Regions from separate parts of the Homo sapiens genome. Here all the other regions are linked to region 2. The links are contacts of gene promoters, found by promoter capture Hi-C in blood cells and fetal thymus (Javierre and others, 2016). All regions are on one chromosome and are shown on one strand. The core of a region is centred on a gene start or on the middle of the fragment in contact, and the rest is flanking DNA. Distances in the headings are between cores, read along the strand shown. Region 1 holds the start of SDHC (succinate dehydrogenase complex subunit C). Region 2 holds the start of UFC1 (ubiquitin-fold modifier conjugating enzyme 1). Region 3 overlaps F11R (F11 receptor).

Region 1 (2,757 bases), core at 214-2,713, 160 kb after region 2:
GAGGCTGAGGCAGGAGAATCGCTTGAACCTGGGAGGCAGAGGCTGCAGTGAGCTGAGATAGCGCCACTGCACTCCAACCTGGGCGACAGAGTGAGACTACGTCTCAAAATAAAAGAAAAAGAAAAAGAAAAAGAAAAACCAAAAAAGATCTGAGTGAAAAAGGCATTCCTTGGGTTTGTTAACGTGAAGCTCCAGAGAGCCAAGTCAATGACTGGAATTTCGATAGCACAAAACTGTATTTAAATATAATAACTAACGAATAAGTTGTTCATTAAATAAAACTTGTTGTTTGAGGTACCCATCATTGAATATGGGGGGGTAGAGTCTTGAAGATCAGCTGTTATGGGTGTTGCAGAGGAGATCCCTGCATAGATAGTAGATTGGATTAGAGAGCCTCTTTCAATCCTAAAGTGTACGAATGTGCTTTGTCAAGCATTATAGAAATGCAAAGTAGTATTATTCATCTGATGCAGAAATAAGTGAATTTGTGCTATTTAAATCCTGAAGTGCAGGGATGCTAAATATACATAAGATCTGAATATTAATATAATTGAGTATTTTTTTTGTAGAAATAGGAGTTGCTCTAGCCTGTCCCTTTTACTCCTCTCCACCCTACTCCCCACAAGAGTCAAGAACTTTTGTGCTCTGTTCCCTTCCTTTATCATTTGCTCTTCTTCTTTCTTCAGTCTTGAGTGCTCGGCAGTTGATTCCTGTGCTTGGGTTCCCTAAAACTGTATATATATATATACACATATATAAATCAAAGCGTGTTCTTCCCCTCACTCCGGGTTCTTCTAGCTGTGGGTGTCACCCACATAGCGCTGAAACAACGAACAAGGGAGCATTGTCCTCGGCTAGTGGGCGCCTGGTCCATGTGGCAGCTCAAACCCAGGAATTGTGGGGTCTAATCGAGGTGGTTAGATGAGGCTCCTCGTTTTCGGGAATGGTGGTCCGCAAGGTCTTCTCGAGGCCCCTCTACACACTCCCCAACTTAGGTCACAATTTATGTATCTGTCTGGTTAAAGCTTCGTATTAGAAAGGGAGGGAACCCAAAGTATCTTTTCTCTTCGGGGTCTCAACCGGCCAACCACCACGTTTTTAGGCCGACCTGGGAGGCAGGGGGAACGCAACAGACTGCGAAGTCCTTAAGGAAGAATCTAAACAAGTCCGCCGTTTGCTGTTTGGGAGTGCGATACAAAATGAATATGTACGCAGGTGGAACGTAGACTGCAGATTTTGAGCCAGCGGCGTTTCTGCCGAAATCCTGGCAAATTCCGGTAGAAGTCGGCTGCAGGAGGCGGAGGAGGAGACTAAAAAACCAGAAAACAACCAGCAAACCAGCTAGGCAGAGCTGAGCGGAGAAGCTCCAGAGCCTTTTAAAGAGACTCTCGTCACATGACACCCCCAACCCCGACCCCCAGCCGGCGCGCCTCCGCCCTCGGGTGGCGGGGCCGCCTGGCGTCACTTCCGTCCAGACCGGAACCCAAGATGGCTGCGCTGTTGCTGAGGTGACTTCAGTGGGACTGGGAGTTGGTGCCTGCGGCCCTCCGGAGATCTGAACTGGCCCCTCACGTTTTGCTGATAACTGTTTATCCTGTGCCTGGGCAGGGAAAGGACCCATGGGTGTGGAGGCCAAGCGCTCGGGGATCCTAGAGACCCCTTTTCCCGTCCCCCCCAGCCGCTCCGGTGCGCTCCGTAGGGCTTCGGGGTCACTGACTTCGTATCGAGGGGCCCTCGGCTCTCGCCCCTTCTGTTTTCCCCACCTCCTCTAGTACTTCTAACGCAAATTGCTCTCGGGCCTGCACCCAGAGCCGAGCTCTGAGAAAATAACTTCAAGGTCAGCCACCCATGGGTCCTACGATTTCGAGAGCGTATTTAGACATTTAGCTTCGGAGAGAGAGATCTTCGTGTATTTTGCCTTTGCTTCGAATGCCTTCAGACACTAGCTGCTCCCACCGTGAGTGGGCGCTGTCTGGGTTCCCAGCGGGCTGCTGGCAAAGGGTGGATCCCTACTGGGGTGGCGATTAGCATTAGCACCCAGGGCGGACCTCTGCTGCCCCAGAGCAACCCGGGGAATTCATTTTTAGTTAATCATTTTACTTGGGAGGGAGAGTGAGTGTCCCAGTTTTTCTCTAAAATGTGAATTAGTTGTCCAGAGAAATACCCTAGATTTTCTTTCATTCTGAACTTTCCGCTGTCTAGGTCTCATTCTCTGCTCAGCCTCTCTAGTCACAGCGACTAGCGCCTTTAGACACGCCTGGTACAAATCCCAGCATAGTTTTGTGCCAGCCTTATTTTTGGAAATTGTTTGTTATGGAAAGTTAGCTTCAATGCTGTTGAGATTTCAATCCCTGATTTCCCCAAATGTGTTCTCATTTCTCTTTCCACTTCAGTCACCCAGTTTAAAAATAGAGGGACTTTGTTTAGTTTTTCTGTGACAAAATGATTCCTCTTGGAGTTGAAATCAGGGTTATCTTAATCCTTCATTTTCTCCCTGTTTTTCATCTCCATATGTATCTTCTGTCTAAGGTATGCCAAGGCTTGTCTTGCCAGTGCTGTCTTCTTTATTCCAGATGGTTTGACCATAATTGAATGCTTTTGAATTCTCTGATATATTTTGGTATCGATGTTAGGGGCTTTTGGTAAAATTAACATTTAGTTTGAAGTGATCATATTGGTTCCAAACAGTTCATTTTAGGAGTTTTGGAATTAGTGTTTAAAAGCTGAGGATCATTATAGTCATTAAGTGTATCCATA
Region 2 (2,700 bases), core at 183-2,682:
TTCAAGCGATTCTCCCGCCTCAGCCTCCAAGTAGCCGGGACTACAAGCGTGCGCCACCATGCCTAGCTAATTTTGTATTGTTAGTAGAGACGGGTTTCACCAGTCAGGCTGGTCTGGAGCTCCTGACCTCAAGTGATCCACCTGCCTTGGCCTCCCAAGTTGCTGGGATTACAGGCTTGAGCCACCACGCCAGCCAAACAGGATATTTAAATTAAAGCCAAAATGGCCGGCGCGGTGGCTCACGCCTGTAATCCCAGCACCTTGGGAGGCTGAGGCAGGTGGATCACCTGAGGTCAGGAGTTCAAGACCAACCTGGCCAACATGGCGAAACCCGGTCTCTACTAAAAATACAAAATCAGCCGGGCGTGGTAGCACATGCCTGTAATCCCAGCTACTCAGGACGCTGAGGCAGGAGAATCAATTGAACCCGGGAGGCGGAGGTTGCGGTGAGCCGAGATCATGCCATTGCACTCCAGCCTGGGCAACAAGAGTGAAACTCGGTCTCCAAAAAAAAAAAAAAAAAAAGCAAAAATTAATGTGTTTAGATTTTAAGTCCAACTGGAGTTTGTTTATTGTTTCCCCACAAGTAATCCCAGCACTTTGGGGAGGCTGGGGCAGGAGGATCGCTTGAGCCCGGGAGATGGAAGATGCAGTAAGCTATGATCGTACCACTGTACTCCAGCCTGGGCAACAGATTGAGACACTGTCTAAAAAAAAAAAAGTCTAGGACTCAGTGAATGGCTAGACTAAGGCAGAAATCTTGCAGGGATTTGTCTTTTGATTCTGCATGGTTTCTAATCTTTATCAGGAGTTAAACATCCTTCTACAGGATAACTGCATCTAGAGGCAGGACTATATATAAGCAAAGGAAAAGTTCTTCGAAGAGGAAACACGAATCGCTCGTTTTAGGAAGTCAGTGCCTTGAAAAGCGCCTTGGGGTTGGGGGCTCGGGGCTGGGGGAGGGATAGCATTAGGAGAAATACCTAATGTAAATGACGAGTTGATGGGTGCAGCAAACCAACATGGCACAAGTATACCTATGTATCAAACTTGCACGTTGTGCACATGTACTCTAGAACTTAAGGTATAATAAAAATAAATAAATAAGTAAAAATGCCTTCAGCAGCCTGAAGTTCTAAGAGCTTTCCAAGTTTGGGAAGGTGTCCGGGTTTTCTGCGATTACTTCTCTGAGCATGAACGGAAGTCACCCTTTGTGCCTTATGCGGTGATTTTAATGATAGGTGTCATATATAGGACGGAGTAATCTGTTTACATTCTGTTCTTCTCGATGCACTCACAAGCGGGTAACTAGGTGACAAGAAAACAAAGATCTTATTCAAAAGAGGTCTTACAGCAACCCAACGTCTCATCTTCCCATAGTAAAGATGACGGCGCCTTGAGGTAAGCTACAGGCAACACCACTTCCGCGTTTCTCTTGCGCCCTGGTCCAAGATGGCGGATGAAGCCACGCGACGTGTTGTGTCTGAGATCCCGGTGCTGAAGACTAACGCCGGACCCCGAGATCGTGAGTTGTGGGTGCAGCGACTGAAGGAGGAATATCAGTCCCTTATCCGGGTTAGTTGTGTTTCTACAGTCTAACGCGTAGCATAAGGGTTGGGAGAAATCAGGTGTCCTCAATAATAGGCTCCGTGTGGAAGCCGCTTCCGGTTTTTAAGTTTAACGCCCAAATTCATAGAAATGGGACTATTGTGGGGCTCGGGGACTAAGGAGGGATGGTGGGGAGAGGGCAAAAAAGACTCGGGTGAGGTGCACAGTGGGGCCAGACCTTGCGGCTAAAAGCAGCAGTTATTTTAGGGATACGCTTCCCCAGAAGGTGACGTGTCTCCCTGGCTACAGGTGTTTGTTCACCTGGATGTGAACAAAAATCCTCAGGGCGCCAACTCCCAGTCCGCATCTCTCTGCCCCCTTCTTCACTCTTCACTGTTTTGTTTGTTTGTTTGACGGAGTCTCGCTCTGTTGCTAGGCTGGAGTGCAGTGGCGCGATCTCGGCTCACTGCAACCTCCGACTCCCGGGTTCAAGCGAGTCTCCTGCCTCAGCCTCCTGAGTAGCTGGGACTACAGGCGCGCGCCACCACACCCAGCTAATTTTTGTATTTTCAGTAGAGACGGGGTTTCACCGTGTTGGCCAGGATGGTCTCGATCCCCTGACCTCGTGATCCTGATCCACCCGCCTCGGCCTCCCAAAGTGCTGAGATTACAGGCGTGAGCCACCGCGCCTGGCCTCACTCTTCACTCTTTCAAGCCACATTAGGGCTGAAAATTCAAGTAGGTGTTAACTACAGAGAGTTGGGGAGTTTAGCTCATAGTTAGAAACGGGCTGTCTTCTCAGTTATCTCTACTGTGGAAGGTGAGAAAAGTTTGTCTTCCTTGTAGTTTCTGCCTGCTTCAAAGACCAGCAGTTCTAGTTCTCCTACCTCATGTATTCATTCACTAAAAAAAAAAAATTACTGTGCATATAGAACCTAGGGAGGAGATACCAAGCCGAATAAGGAGGAACTTACTGAGGTAGACAAAACCAGATCATTATAATACAGTGTTTAAGTGGAGAGAGACTGAGACAGATATGGACAGATATAAAGCGAGAAATGGCTAGGATGTTTTGAGAGCATAAGAGGAGACATCCAGTTTGCATTCGGTCACGGAAGGTTTCCTGGAAGAGGTAATGCTTGAGCTGAAACT
Region 3 (2,700 bases), core at 94-2,593, 140 kb before region 2:
ACGCAAGGTCATCCAGGTCTTTCCTGAATCTCTGAAACAGAAACTGGTTTGAGTTTAGAGATCTCCAGGGTCTCTAGTCAAACCTAACAGATGTGATAAACAAGTCTCATTATTATCACATAAAATGTGCATGGCATTTAAATCTATTTTTGGGTGTGGTGGAAACGTGTGTTGCCCATTTATGTGTCCACAGAACAAGTGCAAATTGAACTCAGCTGACTTGGAGGGGGGTGGGATGTATCCTAACAGCCAAGGCCACAATCCCTAGAAACCAATATGGGCCAGGTGTAGTGACTCATACCTGTCATTCAGCATTTTGAAAGGCCAAGGCAAAAGGATCCCTTAAAGCCAAGAATTCAAGACCAGCCTGTACAACAGATGAGACCCTGTCTGTACTAAAAAAATAAAAAATTAGCCAGGTATGGCTCACCACTCACACTTGCCTATAGCCTCAGCTATTCAGGAGGCTAAGACTGGAGGATTGCTTGAACCCAGGAGGTCAAGGCTGCAGTGAGGCCAGGCACGGTGGCTCATGCCTGTAATCCCAGCACTTTGGGAGGCCAAGGCAGGCGGATCACTTGAAGTCAGGAATTCAAGACCAGCTTGGCCAACATGGTGAAACCCTATCTCTACTAAAAATACAAAAATTAGCCGGGCAGCTCACACCTGTAATCCCAGCACTTTGGGAGGCCAATGGGGGCAGATCACAAGGCCAGGAGATCAAGACCATCCTGGCTAACATGGTGAAATCCCATCTCTACTAAAAATACAAAAAAAAAAAAAAATTAGCAGGGAATGGTGGCGGGTGCCTGTAGTCCCAGCTACTTGGGAGGCTGAGGCAGGAGAATGGCGTGAACCCGGGAGGCAGAGCTTGCAGTGAGCCGAGATCACGCCACTGCACTCCAGCCTGGGTAACAGAGCAAGACTCCATCTCAAAAAAAAAAAATTAAATTAAAAAAATATGTACAAAAGGCTGGGCACAGTGGCTCATGCCTGTAATCCCAGCATTTTGGGAGGCCGAGGCAGGCAGATCACGAGGTCAGCAGATCGAGACCATCCTGGCTAACACGGTGAAACCCCGTCTCTACTAAAAAAAATACAAAAAATCAGCCGGAGTGGTGGCGGGCCCCTGTAGTCCCAGCTACTCGGGAGGCTGAGGCAGGAGAATGGCGTGAACCCGCGAGGCGGAGCTTGCAGTGAGCCGAGATTGCTCCAGTGCACTCCAGCCTGGGTGACAGAGCCAGACTCCATCTCAAAAAAAAAAATATATATATATATATATATACACACACACAAAAATTAGCCAAGAATGGTGGTGCACGCTTGTGTCCCAGCTACTCGGGAGGCTGAGGCAGGAGAATCACTTGAACCTGGGAGGCAGAGTCTGCAGTGAGACAAGATCACGCCACTGGACTCCTCCCTGGGCAACACAGCAAGACTTTGTCTCAAAAAAAAAAAAAAAGGCTGCAGTGAGCTATGATCATGCCATTGTACTCCAGCCTGGGCAACAGAGTGAGACCCTGTTTCAAAAACAACAACAACAACAACAAAACTCCATGATATATATATATAAGCAAGATGTAGAATATATGTAGTATGCCTCTTTTTGTGTCAGAAAGGGGAGAAAAAACAAGTATTATTTATATATACTTGTATCTGTAAAATGAAACACTGAAGAGACATTAGAAACTATTGGGGTTTGGGGTGAACAGGAGCAACATGGGAATGAGATACCCCACCCCTTTGATATCATTTTAATTATAAAACCATGTCAATTAACCTATTCTAATTAAATTTTTTTAAAAAAAATCACAGTAGCTCTATCTTGAATCGGAACTGGGCTGGAGACTCCACAAGACATGATCACAAAGGAACTGAAGAGCAACATGGTGAGGTAAAAGTGGTCTGGAGTGGCCAGGTGCAGGGGTTCACGCCTGTAATCCCAGCACTTTGGAAAGCCTAGGCAAGAGGATTACTTGAAGTCAGGAGTTCGAGACCAGCCTGGCCAACATGGTGAAAACCCGTCTCTACTAAAAATACAAAAAATTAGGGGCCGGGCGCGGTGGCTCACGCCTGTAATCCCAGCACTTTTGGAGGCCGTGGCGGGCAGATCATGAGGTCAGGAGATCAAGACCATCCTGGCTAACACAGTGAAACCTCGTCTCAACTAAAAATAGAAAAAATTAGCCAGGCATGGTGGCGGGCGCCTGTAGTCCCAGCTACTCAGGAGGCTGAGGCAGGAGAATGGCATGAACCCGGGAGGTGGAGTTTGCAGTGAGCCGAGATCGTGCCACTGTACTCCAGCCTGGCGACAGAGAGAGACTCTGTCTCAAAAACAAATAAATAAATAAATAATACAAAAAATTAGCCGGGCGTGGTGGCGCGTGCCTGTAGTCCCAGCTGCTGGGGAGGCTAAGGCAGGAGAATCGCTTGAAGCCGGGAGGTGGAGGTTGCAGTGAGCCAAGATCATGCTACTGCATTCCAGCCTGGGTAACAGAATGAGACTCCGTCTCAAAAAAAAAAAAAGTGATCTGGAGCCAGAAGGCAAAGACTAAAGGACACTGAAATTCCACTGCCACTCGTTTCCTAGTTCCAGGTAGAACTAGGAAGTGCCAGTCACCAGTTTCTAGTTTGGAGGGAACAATTCACTCCTGGGAGTAGAGGGAGAGGAAAGGAGGAGTGACTCACCAGTGTGGGGAA

The links. Contacts are between HindIII fragments. The CHiCAGO score rates a contact against its expected background, and 5 or more counts as called.
Region 1: the fragment with the promoter of SDHC here is called in contact with the fragment with the promoter of UFC1 in region 2 in 2 of 17 cell types (naive CD4 T cells and M1 macrophages); the score reaches 6.1 in naive CD4 T cells.
Region 3: a fragment that was not itself captured here is called in contact with the fragment with the promoter of UFC1 in region 2 in 1 of 17 cell types (erythroblasts); the score reaches 5.1 in erythroblasts.

Annotation. Positions count from the first base shown.
Region 1 is chr1:161,312,918-161,315,674 of GRCh38, forward strand. It overlaps SDHC (succinate dehydrogenase complex subunit C), which reads left to right and starts at 1,464. Exons shown (of 6, transcript NM_003001.5): 1 at 1,464-1,508. The coding sequence starts at 1,489. RefSeq lists an enhancer at 1,040-1,803 and silencers at 1,355-1,414, 1,445-1,514. The HindIII fragment of the contact is 7,788 bases long and covers 1,024-2,757 here.
Region 2 is chr1:161,152,546-161,155,245 of GRCh38, forward strand. UFC1 (ubiquitin-fold modifier conjugating enzyme 1) reads left to right here and starts at 1,433. Exons shown (of 6, transcript NM_016406.4): 1 at 1,433-1,575. The coding sequence starts at 1,453. RefSeq lists enhancers at 1,015-1,795, 1,033-2,232, 1,121-1,170, 1,261-1,310, 1,351-1,740. The HindIII fragment of the contact is 16,464 bases long and covers 1-2,700 here.
Region 3 is chr1:161,014,144-161,016,843 of GRCh38, forward strand. All of the region lies in intron 1 of F11R (F11 receptor), which reads right to left. Among named protein-coding and RNA genes, the nearest start is that of F11R, 5.7 kb to the right of the region's middle. RefSeq lists enhancers at 1-120, 1,762-2,359. The HindIII fragment of the contact is 7,117 bases long and covers 1-2,700 here.